4 separate regions of the Homo sapiens genome follow, and regions 1, 3 and 4 are each linked to region 2. Evidence: promoter capture Hi-C in 16 types of primary human blood cells and fetal thymus (Javierre and others, 2016). All regions are on one chromosome and are shown on one strand. Each heading gives the region's core, a stretch centred on a gene start or on the middle of the fragment in contact. The rest is flanking DNA. Distances are from core to core; before and after follow the strand shown.

Region 1 (3,583 bases), core at 87-2,586, 800 kb after region 2:
GTCAATGACGCACCTTTTTTGTAAAAATAAAGAAGTAGGGAGAGGCGTTTGCTTCCCTGTGCCTCAGTTTTCCTCTCCTTAAAGTAAAAAAACAATTTCACCTTATATCACACTACAGCTGTAAGGAAGAAAAAAAATGAATATAATCCAAAAGCAAGGTGACATTTTATAGCAGGAAAATACTCTAGGAATCATCTTTCACTTTGTAAAAGAGAAAACAAAGGCTGTAGGCAACATTTCATATGTTAAGCCTAGATTTGAGTGTCTTGAGTCCCAGTCGTAGGTATTATATCTAATATAATGTACCTGGTAATATTGAAGCACTTCTTAGCACCTAATTTGTACCAAACACATTCTAAGCATTTAATCCTCATAGTACCAATATTGGGTAGGATTATTCATGTCAGAGAGGTAAAGTGAATTCCACAATATCACACAGCTAGTAGGTGGTAAAGCAGTATTTGAACCCAGGAAGTCTGGCTTCAGACTCTATGCTTTTAATCAGTATGATAACTTGCCTCTTTTGTTATTAGGGAAAGAGCCTGACAGAACCAAGCCTGTTAAGAGTTGAATTTCAGTTTTCCACTTCAGGATAAAAAAGGATTAGAATGGTAATTAAACATATACATTAAAAGGAGTGTGCAGAACCTGTAGATAGATTGTGATGAAGACTGAACTTCATTGTTCTTCCTCTGGCTTGAGCAGATCCTTAGGGTTTTAAGTTCTGCTCTATAAGGTGTGCAGTAGGTCCACCAGCTAACTGTGGAGGGCTGTGGTAATAGATGAGCAGTATATTAAAGACCATTATGCAAAACTAACTTAAGATAAACTTATTAGAAAATGTAGACCAGACAAATGGTCTGATCTGTGAAGTAACGTGGTGGAATTAACAGTCAATGCGGCCTCAAGGTGGAACTAACAGTCAATGTGAACTTTACATAGATGGTTGCTTTTGCAGCTGAAGAGAGGCTGTTCTTAGCTGGAGTTCTCCATCTTTCCCACGGAACTCTGCATAGGTTTAAAAAATGGTATCCAATGACTATAACAAAAGAAATCACCATTATCTCCAGCTCTGATTATTTTCTGCACTCTGGCAACAGACTTCTTCAAGTGGGAAATGTTTAAATTGTTATAAAAACAAGTAGTGCTGTCCTTGCAACATGTTTGATTATCAGTTTTTTTATCTTTATTGATCTTTCAGTGGATGTGAAAAAAGCTTTCCTTAAAACTAAACAGTTTATAGACTATAATTTTATAGGTAATGAGTCATTATTTAGGTATTACTACAGATGTGGGTACTAAGTGTTCTTCAAAGCACGGAAGGTAGCCTCTTTTTATTTCTGATCAGTGGAGAAATAACCACCCTATGTTGTACCAAATCTTACAGAACAGTCTGAACTGAAGAATAACATGAGGAAATTTCATCTAAAAAAATTATATTAAAAGGGAAGCTTTATATGGAAACAGGCATGGATTTAATACTTCTTCTGGATGCTATAATAAAATGTTTCATTAGTCTTTCAGGAATGGAAAGCAGATGGATATTTAACTGACACTCTGCACAGAAACCAGAGACTGAACATTTTATTAATTTTATCAGTTGCATGGTACCAACTTGAATGGAAACTAAAGATTGAAGTTTTATTCATTTTATCTGTTCCCTTACGAAGGGAAAAGGATTAACTGTAACTGTTCTTTATCTGAATTTCTCATATCTGAAATGGAAACTATTCTAATCTGTGTAGCCTTTAAACAGTCTCTCTTCTTCTTGTTTATTTTAGCTGATGACGTGGTTTTGCTCATCAAATCACGTTAATTATTTAAAGGAAAAAAATTGAAATTTTTCACATGTCTTTTTTAAAGTATGATTTTTGGAAGCCCAGTAATTCTGCTGAGCCAAATATTACTTAGTAATATGGACACATACAATGTCTCAGGACATGTTACAATGGGAAATTCTGTTTTCCTCAAGCATTTCACATTAGATTATTATCTGGTTACCTTTCCTAATAGGCTAGAATTTTAGTGAAAGTCATAAAAGTAGAACTGGAGTCTCCAAAAATGAGATACTTTCTCAGGAGATGGTCATTGACACCTTCATTAGAACAAATGGACTAGAAATAAAGCTCCATTCAGAAGGCAACAAGGAATGCTACCAGCTGACTTCCTTATGGCAGTCCATGGCAGTGTATAAATATGCAAATGAAATTAAAGATTCACGGATTATTTTTAGCAATGTGTTAGTTCCAGTGGCCTGGAAATTTTTCTCTCAGGTACTGAATTCTGTAACCCTTGAGAATTCAGTTACATACAGTGATATATTTCTCTTCTTCTAGTTCTGCAGGGCACAGTAATATGCCCTTCAGACAAACAAACAAACAAAAAACCCTCTGTATACAGGTGGGTATCCATCTACCTCTCTACATTCGCTATAAACCAGTTATTCTCAAACTTAACATGTATCAGAATCATCTGAAGGGTGTGTGAAAACACACAGAGATTGCTGGGCCCTTCCTCAGTTTCTAAATCAGGACATGTGGGCTGGGGTCTGAGAATTTGCATTTCTAACACATGCCCAGGTGCTGCTGATGCTGCTGGTCTGAGGACTACACTTTGAGAAGCAATGTCTCCAGTAAGGCAAGGGATAATGAACTGGACAAGTTATTTTTCACTGTCAACCTAAATAACAGAGAGAGAGGTTCTCTAAAAGAAAATGAGGCCGGGTGCGGTGACTCATGCCTGTAATCCCAGCACTTTGGGAGGCCCAGGTGGGTGGATCATTTGAGGTCAGGAGTTCAAGACCAGTCTGGCCAATATGGTGAAACCCCATCTCTACTGAAAATACAAAAGATAGCCGGGTGTGGTGGCACATGCCTATAATCCCAGCTACTCGGGAGGCTGAGGTAGGAGAATTGCTTGAACCCAGGAGGCGGAGGTTGCAGTGAGCCAAGATCGTGCCACTGTACTCCAGCCTGGATGACAGAGCAAGACTCCATCTAAAAAAAAAAAAAAGAAAACAAAAAAATAGAAAATCATATTTATTTGGGAATATAACATTGCAGTGGAAATACAAGTGACATGGTAAACTATGTGTGTATTCAGGGAGGTAAAGAAAGACAAGGTTTTTAAAGGAAAAGTGAGGAGGGTTACACTCCCGGAACAATAACAAAGGCGGAGCCAGTCCAAAGTTGTACAGGCAGTTGCTGGGCAGATGTCCTCACGGAGGTATTTTTTGTGTAAGGTTGCCATGGCCTTTATGCAAGGTTATGGTTTTTGCAGTCTTTTGTGATAGTTTTATGTGTGAGAACCCTCCCTTCGTGGCCTTCTCTGACTCTATTAGTCAGGGTTTTTTTGTTTTGTGGTGTTTTTAACACAGTTGACTTAGTTTTGACAACTTTCATATCACATATAGTTGATCTTCTACATCAAATTGCCATTTTAGAAAAATTGCCATTATAGAAAAATTTCCAATGTAGAAATGGTCTTGTTTTGGCTTTACAAGAACTATTGTTTGTACAAAAGAGAGAAAACTCTTTGATCCTTTGGTCTTTTGGCATATACTTTTTTGAGTAAATGCTTTTTA
Region 2 (3,314 bases), core at 571-3,070:
GAGGCCGAGGCGAGCGGATCATGAAGTCAGGAGATGGAGACCATCCTGGCTAATACGGTGAAACTCCGTCTCTACTAAAAATACAAAAAAATTAGCCGGGCGCGGTGGCGGGCGCCTGTACTCCCAGCTATTCGGGAGGCTGAGGCAGAAGAACGGCGAGAACCCGGGAGGTGGAGCTTGCAGTGAGCCGGGATTGAGCCACTGCACTCCAGCCTGGGCGACAGAGCAGGACTCGGTCTCAAAAAAAAAAAAGTGTATGACCTTGAAACTGATCAAGAGCAACTTTCCAAGTGAGATAAATGACGTGAAAAATCATATATTAAAGTGACCACATTTTACTTAACTCAAAAATTATCTTGGATTTGTGCCATTTTAATTTTCACTGGGTAACTTTATATGGAAAAATCACCTGCAATATGAGGATAAACTTACCTATTTTCCAGAAGCCTAATGAGATTTTTATCAATGATTACAATACTTGCGTGTCTGTCTGGGATATAATATGAACAAGACAGGCTGATGGCTTTGGAAAATGTGCCATGTTTCTACTCAATGAAGCATGAAAAGTGATTTGACAGAGTGCTTCAAGAATGCACTTTGCACTTGTTTTCCTCTCCTGCCTTCAGGAAGATAAGTGAGACAAAAAAAAAAAAAAAAAAAAAAAGACTAAAGTTAGTATTCTTCCTGAATCCATTTTTGAAGAATCCAGTATAATTTTTAGAAAATATTTCCTCTAGAGAAGACATTGTAGGAGGCATAAAAGGGGTCCGCATGTGTGAGCAATTAAAGGTTAGAAGTTTTAAGATTCTCTCATTCCTTCATTCCCACCAGGAAGTCAGTGGTCCATCCTACCTCAGTCTTTCTCCCCTGTCCTTTAAGCTGATTCCTGGCCAAATTCAGAACGGGCAGAAGCAGTAAATCTGGCCCTCTGGACAAGAGATTGAGTTGGTTTACAAAAGTTTCACAAGTATCTAAATCTAGGCCGTTACTGAATCAACTGGATAATCAGACTACCTGTGTCTGACTCTGAAGTGCAGATCAAGTTGATATCGTTGACAACTGGCCAAATCTTAGGACTGGGCCAAGGAAATGGCTGGATGTGTGTGTGTGTGTGTGTGTGTGTGTGTGTGTGTGTGTGTGTGTGTGTTGGGGTTGGAGGGCGGGGTCCGATAGTAATTATGGGTGGGGCCAAAGTCCTACCTCGTAAACAAATGCTACACGAAACATGTAAAAACGTTTATCTATGTATGTAGTGAAGCTTTAAATACATCCCAAGACCCATGCTTATCCCAATACCCACGTCCCTCCAACGACACTGTTACCCCATGCCACTGCTATACAGAATTCTGGTGTCTACCATGCCAGAATCCCTGCCCAAAACAGGGAGGAGGTAAATGGCTGAAGGCCCAGCTCCAGGCACTGTAGAAAATGAGGAAAGTCTAGCGGCAAAAAGAAAGGGCAGTCCCCTCTTCCTCTAGTACTCCTAGCCACATGCTGGACCAATTCACCCCAGGACCTCCAGGCCCTAGATTCTCATTCTTTCCCTGGCCCGAAGAGGACAGAAAAATCAAACACACGGGCTCCCACGTCTTCAGGAAAGACTTAGCTTAGCAGTCAGCGGAAGCACCTCACTACTAACCTCGCTCCTTTCTCCTCTCCTACAGGGGGCTGGAGTTCCCGGCTTCCCACCGGCCAGACGCGATTCTGGCTGGGACAGCAACACCAAAAACGCCAGGGCTAGGGAGCCCAGTTCCCCGTCCGCAGTTTGCGCATGTGCGAAGAGGGGCTTCTGGAGGAGCCGGGGGCTTAGTTGCTAAGAGACACAGCTGGAGAGAGAAGTTCCGCTTAACGCCGGGCTGCGAAAGGCGGGGACGTCACGCTATTGGTAGGGAGTAGAGAGAAAGGGCTGGTTTAAAGGCCTTTTTTTCTGTCCATTGGATGAACTGGATGTCAATAACTCAGGCTGGGTGGGCGGGGCTGAGAGAGGTCGGTGAGAGCGGCCTTAGCAACCGCCAGTGAGCTGTGAAGACTTGGGTTGGGCGGGGCTGCGGGAGGTGACGCCGGGAGGTCCCGGCTGAGAGCGCCGGCTGCCGGCTGGGGACCTGGTGAGTGTGAAGCTGTAACCTTCTGCTGGGGCCGGGGCCGAAGTTTTTCCGCCAGAGCAAGGAAGGCTGCCCCTGGCAGCAACTGCACTCCTTCCTTACTCCTGTTGAGATTCATTTTATAGTAGGAAATAGGTACTTTAATATAGTTTATCATCAATTATTCTGGTTCTGCTAACTATTCCAGTTATATAATTTATCTTTCACCCATATGTGTGTGTATTACAGGCATCTAACTACCATACAAGTTCAGACCAATGGAAGAAAAGAGCAGCAAAAATTGAACTGAATGAATCCCAAAAGCAAGAAATTAAAGACGCCTTTAATTTATTTGATATTGATGGGTCTGGAACCATCGATGTAAAAGAAGGTTCTGAAATTATTTCTAATTCTAAATCATTTTAAAAACCATATTATTTGTGGCAATCTTTAAGGCTTTCTTTAAAAGTAGTCTTCTGAAAGCTTAATATAAAGTCTCTTCAGTGCATATGCCTGCCCTGCATTAGCAAAACGATATCTTGTTAAGCATTTTAATTGTGTTTTATAAATGAGTAGGCAAAAGCCCAGGGTGTAACAGTGATGTACATGATGGCACAGTAGGACTGAAACACAGGCCTGCTGACCTAATTTTCTGTTTATGCTCAGTCCATAATAGAAAAGAGAGAAGCTCTTAATAGGGAGTTAAAAAGCTTAGAAAGAAATCATGGCATATTATAATTCCTTTTCTTCCTATTTCAGATTGCAGTGTGGGCCTTAGGATTTGAACCAAAGAAAGAAGAAATTTAAAAAATGGTAGCTGAAGTTGATAAAGAAGGAATTGGCACCATTAGTTTTGAAGATTTTTTTTTGCCATTATGAGTATAAAAATGATATAGTTATGATTTTATTTTTCAAAGAAATACTAGCAATAACCTGCTACATTTTAGGGCTGGAGCAATCAGAAGTTTTATAGAGAAGCAATTAGAACTAGGTTTTTAAGGATGGGAGATAGGAAGAGCAAGATTAAATATGTTTTCAGGGTAGTAATGAGAAGACTATGATGTGGAGAAGAGGTTTTTGTCAGGAAATAATGAGGCTATATTGCAGGATAGAGAGAATGGGGCCAGAATTTGGAAGCCTTTAATTCAGCAACATATATTGAATGCCTATTTTTGCCAGGCACTATTCTAAGGAGCATTGAAAGATACAACCTTCCATTTTGAAGCTTACATT
Region 3 (3,443 bases), core at 130-2,629, 850 kb after region 2:
ACACTTGGCATAACCAGATTTATTAATCGTTCTCTTTATTAGATGTAAAATTGTGTCTCCTTTTAGTCATAATTTGTATTTCCCTGCAACAGAGTTTGAAATTGTTTCTTAAGCTTGTTGACCCTTCACGTTTCCATTTCTGTGAAACATTTGTTTGTCTTTTGCCCATTTTAAAATCGGGTTATTTGAGTTTTTCTTATTGAATTAAAGTTCTTTATATATTTGGATATAAATTATTTTTAATTACAAGCATTACCAATATTTTCTCCCAGTTTATGGCTTGCCTTTTCACTTTCTTTATAGTATCTCTTTAAACAGAAATTTTAAATTGTAATGAAGTTGAATTTATCAGTCTTTTCTATTGTAATCAGAAGTTTTAATCTTGTTTTTTTAAAAATACAGGTCTACCCCAAATTTATAAATATACTCTCTTATATAATACGTTCTTTTAAGGGTTCAGAAGCTTTGTCTTTCACATTTAAGATGCAAATGGAATTAATTTTTGTGTTCATGGTATGAAATAGGGCTCCAATTTAATTTTTTCCATATGGGTAAACAGTTATCCTAGAAGAGCATTTATTTAGACTGAAAATAGTCACATATATTGCTATTAGAGAAACGTATGCAATATAACAAAATATATGGCATTTAGAAAACATAAAATATAATACTTACAGTAATTAGTATATATACAAATTTTAAAGAAAAGATATTGGAAGGGCATACACCAAAATGAAAACAGTGATTATCTTTGGCTGGTGAGGTTGCCAATGATTTCATTTGTTTATTTTGTTCTTCTGTATATTTTCCAAATTCTCTATATAGAGTATACATTGATGTATTTTTCTAAATACTGGGAAATAAGGTAGTGTCTATGGGTGATAATGTGGTGTCAATGTAATTTAAAAAGAAACTATTAGTTGAAAGAGGAGCCATGAATTCAAATCTTCAAGCTTAACTTCTTTTTAAAAGCTTCTTCCGTTTCTGAGGCAAAAAAAAAGTATTGGTGGATTATGCAGTAAGTCTCAGTAGAAGGCATTAAGAGAGTTAAGTTCTGAAACCTGCGTAATTTTTCTATACATAGTTATAAAATTTTTTTCTCCCCTGAGTTGTTTGCTTTACAGGTATGTAAGCCTCTTTGGAAAATAGGATTGGGGCACTTATGTATATCATTGGAGATCTAATCATTTACTTTTGCCCAACAGCAGATAATGAAAAGACTTATAAAGCGGTATGTTTTGAAAGCACAAGTAGACAAAGAAAATGATGAAGTTAATGAAGGTAAGCATCTCCAACTTAAAAAATATCCTTTTATAGCTAACTTAATGAACCTGGAAAACTTAATGTTGAGGCATATTTTAAAAATCCAATCCCAGGTTATAGTTTGGATGCCTCTAAGATGGGAGGAGGATCTTATGTTACGTTTCTAAAACTTCATCTTTTAAAATAAACAGTTATTTACAATATTGATCAGAGGCAATTTATCTCTACTCATAGTGCCCTAACTGATTCTTAGAATGTAAAGACTGACATCTTTCTAGGAGTTTTTTAATCCTTCTGACATAAGGTAGTCAGTAAGTATTGGTTACATTTTCAATGAGTTCACATTAGTGTTAACATTTTTCCAGTTAAGCAGATAAAAGAACAGTGACTCAAACAGAATTCATGTCTTCAGGAAAACCTCTGTTTTATTGTTCAGAAACACATTTTTAACCTGTTTTTCTTGTCTGGTGCGTCTCTTTTGAATTTCACTTTCCCCCCTGCCTCCTTACTTTAAGCAAGCTTATTTTTTTAAGGCATATTTGAGGCAGGGCATCTCTCTGGACTATAAAAATTTTTTACCAAAGTCTAGGATGTAGAGCTAAACACAGGCCCAGAGTTGGAAAGAAATCAACCAGGGAGAAATAAGTTGCCCTAAAAATGGAAACTGTACCTTCCAACACCAATGAGATGCCACTAAATCTATCTACACTGATAAAAGAGGAAAGGACTAAACTTAATAAAATTGTTCATAGGCTTTGAAGCCATTACTTGATTAATACAAGGAATGCATTTTAAATGTAAATCAATCCAATAGTGTATGTATGTAGAAGAGAAACCTGTGAATTTATAATCGATAACTAGCAAAAATCTAATCATGGTGACCTAATCAATCTGTCTCAGGAGAAAGGATTGGAATGAGGTTGTAGTTTAGAAAGCAGAAGTCTGATGAGTTGTACCGTAATCTCCATGGGGGGTGGAGAGGGAGGAACAAAGTGGGAAGAACTGTATGGCTAAAACGGCATAAAAAACAAGAAGCATTTCCCAAGCCCTTGCACAAAAGGGGAAAATCAATGAGAATTTGGAGTTTTGAACAAAGTTCTTACTAAGAAAATGTGTCATATAATCTCCTCATTTAATTAATGAGGAAACTAAAATCTGAAGAGTTTGAGTAACTTGTGTTTCCTGAATTGGCAGATTAAATATTTAATACAACACATAGGTTGTAGTCTCCCCATGAGTCGGGGACAAGGAAGAAAGGATAGTAGAAGGTGAAGTAGGGCAGGGGGTCTCCTGCGGTACTGAATGGTGTGAGAATCCACTCCTTCCACTGAAGTCTGCCTCATGATTTCAAATAAGATCAGTTTATTCCTTTTATATTGCCATATGCCAAAGGAAGCACTTTTTTTTTTTTTTGCCACAAAAGGGCTCCTCAAATGTTTTGTGTGTATTCCTGAGTTAGAATTCTTTTCAAATAAAAATGCTCTGACTTTTATATAATAGAAGAATATTGAAATTATACTTTAAAGCATATTAAAGATACCAGGAAATATCATCAAAGGTGTGTTTTAAATGCCATTTTATTATAAAAACCTAAGTCAATGGTTTGAAGAATCATTTCTTAGATTCAAGGTAAATTCTTGCTCCAACATTCACTTTTGAAGGTCAGTGGTTTATCTACATTACGGTCACTTGCAAGAGAATCCAGTGTTTCTTTTCTTTTCTTTTTTAACCAAATACTGCCTCTCCTTGAAGAGAATCCAGTTTTTAATTGCAATATACGTATGCTCAAAATACTGCCAAACTGAATTATGGGAGCAATTTATTTTTATAGCCCAAACTCTCCTATTCTCTTCAGGAATATATTGTCAGTGGTATCATATCTAAACTCCTCAATTGCACTGTTGCTTGTTACTTCCTTACGCATTAGTCCTTTGTGCTGGACAAACTAATGTCTTCATGTCCATTGCCATTGCCTTCCCTAATAAACACTCCTTACTCTTTTTTCTTTCTTTCCCTTACTTCATATTTGCCTTGAAATTATTTGCCTGTCAGATAGATTGATTCATTTTTAGTAAAATTTAGTTTTTCTAGGATTCCCTTTGATCCTAGCAATGGGAGATATTTGATGCAGGTGTCAACCTTTACACTTGAAAGAAACAAAGGGACTCCCTTGTAGTCAG
Region 4 (3,553 bases), core at 606-3,105, 830 kb after region 2:
AGGTCCTTGCCTATCAGTGGCACTTCCTTATCTCTTAGCATCCCACACCTTCCTGAGTTATAATGGTGGGAAGTTAGGTGGTGAGGTAAATCATCTCTTTGGCTAGAGGGCCATGTGTTTGAATCACACCTTACAGTGGCAGAGCTTGGCCACAGATAAGAGGCCCTGCTCGTATACATGAAGACTAGGTATTACCTGTGTGTTCCTCTTGCTTCCTGTTCCTACCCACTCAAAAGCTAAACCTTAAAAAGAAAAAGAGAGAAAAGAAAAGGAAACCAAAATTCTTTAGCCCAATTCTCTCCAAAATTGTGAACCTGGCTTAGCATAAGGCCAAGATGCTTTGGAAGATGTGTTATTTTGGCTAATATTTTAGGGCTGCAAAATACCAAATGGTGCCATCTGAACCTGCAATATGTTTCTATTCAAATCTAGAAGAGGAACTTAGGCTCAGGAACAGATCAAACTTCTATGGAATTTGGCCTTCTAGATGCCTTGAGTACATTTTGATAAAGTATACAAGGTCCCCAGGGAAAATTATGTTTATTATGAGCCAATTTTTAACATATATTTTCCATTAAATAGTTCTATTACAGTAGTACATCCTGCCAACATTTTGATAAATGTGAGCATATTGCTCACAGTAATTTTAACCTTTGGGAATATATTACATCACTTACAAAGCTCAACTTCCACAAAATGTTTCTTGGGAATGTTGACTCCAGAAATGTTATCAAGGAGAATAAATGGATTATATTTTTTATTCCAAATGAATGTATTCTAATTTACTAGGTTAATTGTATTTTTTCCTAGTTAAACCTCTTCACTCAGTCTAACTCAAGAGTTTTTGAATCACACAGTTTTAACAGCATTCTCAATCAGCCAACACGTTATCAGGTAAGCATTCATTAGACGTATCTCTTGATCTCTATGTGATTCCATATATGTCTGCGTGTGTGTTTGTGTGTGTGTCATGAGTTGAGTTATATTCTTGAGATATACCATTATACCATGAGGATAGTTCAGAACAAAGAAAATGATTCAACACCTGTGAAATTTTTTAAAAAAAAATTAAAAATAAAAGAAAATAGTATGTTAGTTGGAGGAGACTTTAGAAATCAGAGTCCAAGTCCTTCATTTTTTTAACTAAGAGTTCCTCTCACAATATTGAAAGCAAAGTGTTGCTACAATTGCCAAATAATGTATAACTTAAACTGGAGAAAGCAGTAGAAGACAGAGTATGTTAGAATGAATAATGCTCCCATGGCAGGAAAACTTGTTTTTTCTCTAGGTTTTTCTTTCAGGTGATCCATTTTTTAAATGGATTGTTTGGCTATACTGTTTCATGAGTGCTACTTTAAAATATCTTTTGCATTTTGATACTGGATGTGACATTTGAACACTATTCTCCAACTCAGGGGAAGTTATAGCCCTTTGTTTTTCATCTCGTTGATCATTTCGATCATCAAGTCTTTGACTTTCTAATGTGTATAAGTTCACAAAAGTGACGATCAAGGAATTTATAATATATTGGTGATGTCCGTTACTGCGTATTGTTCTATTTTTTATCCAATTTTTTTAGAAGCAGGAAACCACAAAATGGCTCAGCCCACTGATTGTCAAAGTCTTTTTTTTAAGAAAATTTTTGTAAATTTTACATATTTGTTTATTTTTGTTTTATTGGTTTTGTCTAACTTTATTTTTAATTGATAAATAATTATACTTACTCATTGTCTACATAGTGATGTTTTGATACATATGTAGGAATCAGATCAGGGTAATTAGCATATCCATCATCTCAGACATCTATCATTTCTTTGTGTTGGTAACATTCAGTATCCTCCTTCTAGCTATATGAAACTATATAATATTAATATATCATTGTTAACTATGGTCATGCTATAGTGGTATAGAACAGTGGTCCCCAACCTTTTTGGCACCAGGGACCGGTTTTGTGGAAGACAATTTTTTCACAGATGGGGTGGAATGATGGTTTCAGGGTGAAAGTGTTCCACCTCAGATCTTCAGGCTCTTCAGGCATTAGATTCTCATAAGGAGTGCACACCCTAGATCTGTCACATGTGCAGTTCACAATAGGGTTCACAATAATAGGAGAATCTAATGCCGCTGCTAATCTGACAGGAGGTGGAGCTCAAGCGGTAATGCTCGCTTGCCAGCCTGTCACTTCCTGCTGTGCAGCCTGGTTCCTGACAGGCCACGGACAGATGCCAGTCCTTCATCTGCGGGTTGGGGACTCCTGGTGTAGAACACTAGAAGTTATTCCTCCTATCTAGCGGTAATTTTGTATCCTTTAACAAATCTCTCCATATCCCTCCCTACCCCTTACCCTTCCCAGTCTCTAGTATCCTTCGTCCTACATTTTACCTCTGTGAGATCAACTTTTTTTAGCTTCCACATATGAGTTTATGAGTTAGAACATGCGGTGCTTAACTTTATGTTCCTGGCTTATTTCACTTGACATAATGTCCTCCAGTTCCATCCATGTTGCTGCAAATGATGGGATTTCAATCTTTTTTATAGCTGAATTGCATTCCGTTGTGTATATATACTACATTTTTTATACATTCATCTGCTGTTAGACACCTAGGTTGATTTCATATTTTGAATATTGTGAATAGTGCTGCAATAAAACATGTGGGTGCAGTTGTCTCTTTGATATAATGATTTCTTTTCCTTTAGATAAATTCCCGTAGTGGGGTTGCTGGATCATATGGTAGCTCTATTTGTAGTTCTTGGAAAATCCTCCATACTGTTCTACATAATGGTTGTACTAGTTTACATTCCCATCAACAACATATTAGAGTTCCCTTTCTCTGCATTCTTACCAGCATTTTTTTTTTGTCTTTTTGATAGTAGACATTCTAACTGGAGTGAGATGATAACCTCATTGTGGTTTGGTTAGTGATGTCGAGCATTTTTTCATATATCATTGACCATTTGTATGTATTCTTTTGAGAAATGTCTGTTCAGATTATTTGCCCATTTTTAATTGGAATTTTTTTTTTTTTTTTTTTTTTTTTTTTTTTTTTTTTTTGCTGTTGAGATGATTGAGTTCCCTGTATATTCTGGATATTAATCCCCTATTGGATGAGCAATTTGCAAATATTTTCTCCAATTTTGTAGGCTGTCTTTTCACTGTTGTTTTTTCCTTTGTTGGTATGAACCAAACCAAGAAGCCTTTGGTTTGGTATGATCCCATATGTTTATTTTTGCTTTTGTTACTTCTGCTTTTGAGGTCTTGTTCATAAAATATTTTCCCAGACCAGTGTCCTGAAGCATTTCTCCTATGTTTTTTTCTACTAGTTTTATCATTTCAGGTCTTACATTTAGGTCTTTGGTCCATTTTGCCCTGATTTTTATACAAGGTGAGAAGTGGGAGTCTAGTCTTATTCTTCTGCATATGGATATCCAGTTTTCCCAGCACCAGTTATTGAAGAGACTGTCCTTTTCCCAATGAGTGTTTTTGGCATCTTTGTAAAAACTCAGTTGGTTATAGACACATGGATTAATTTCTGAGTTCTTAATTCTGTTCCAT

What was found. The method cuts DNA at HindIII sites, captures the fragments that hold promoters and counts their contacts. A CHiCAGO score of 5 or more calls a contact.
Region 1: a contact is called between a fragment that was not itself captured here and the fragment with the promoter of BBS12 in region 2, in 1 of 17 cell types (total CD4 T cells). The highest score is 6.4, in total CD4 T cells.
Region 3: a contact is called between a fragment that was not itself captured here and the fragment with the promoter of BBS12 in region 2, in 11 of 17 cell types (total CD4 T cells, non-activated CD4 T cells, total B cells and 8 more). The highest score is 9.9, in total CD4 T cells.
Region 4: a fragment that was not itself captured here is called in contact with the fragment with the promoter of BBS12 in region 2 in 6 of 17 cell types (naive CD4 T cells, total CD8 T cells, naive CD8 T cells and 3 more); the score reaches 12.4 in naive CD4 T cells.

The regions. Positions count from the first base shown.
Region 1 is chr4:121,925,841-121,929,423 of GRCh38, reverse strand. All of the region lies in intron 2 of TRPC3 (transient receptor potential cation channel subfamily C member 3), which reads left to right. Among named protein-coding and RNA genes, the nearest start is that of TRPC3, 24 kb to the left of the region's middle. The HindIII fragment of the contact is 235 bases long and covers 1,219-1,453 here.
Region 2 is chr4:122,731,210-122,734,523 of GRCh38, reverse strand. BBS12 (Bardet-Biedl syndrome 12) reads right to left here and starts at 1,820. Exons shown (of 2, transcript NM_152618.3): 1 at 1,640-1,820. It also overlaps the pseudogene CETN4P. RefSeq lists an enhancer at 1,361-1,570 and a silencer at 1,931-2,150. The HindIII fragment of the contact is 1,306 bases long and covers 1,261-2,566 here.
Region 3 is chr4:121,880,192-121,883,634 of GRCh38, reverse strand. It overlaps TRPC3 (transient receptor potential cation channel subfamily C member 3), which reads left to right. Exons shown (of 12, transcript NM_001130698.2): 11 at 1,206-1,281. Among named protein-coding and RNA genes, the nearest start is that of BBS7-DT, 11 kb to the right of the region's middle. The HindIII fragment of the contact is 810 bases long and covers 975-1,784 here.
Region 4 is chr4:121,896,953-121,900,505 of GRCh38, reverse strand. It overlaps TRPC3 (transient receptor potential cation channel subfamily C member 3), which reads left to right. Exons shown (of 12, transcript NM_001130698.2): 10 at 811-894. Among named protein-coding and RNA genes, the nearest start is that of BBS7-DT, 28 kb to the right of the region's middle. The HindIII fragment of the contact is 5,104 bases long and covers 1-3,553 here.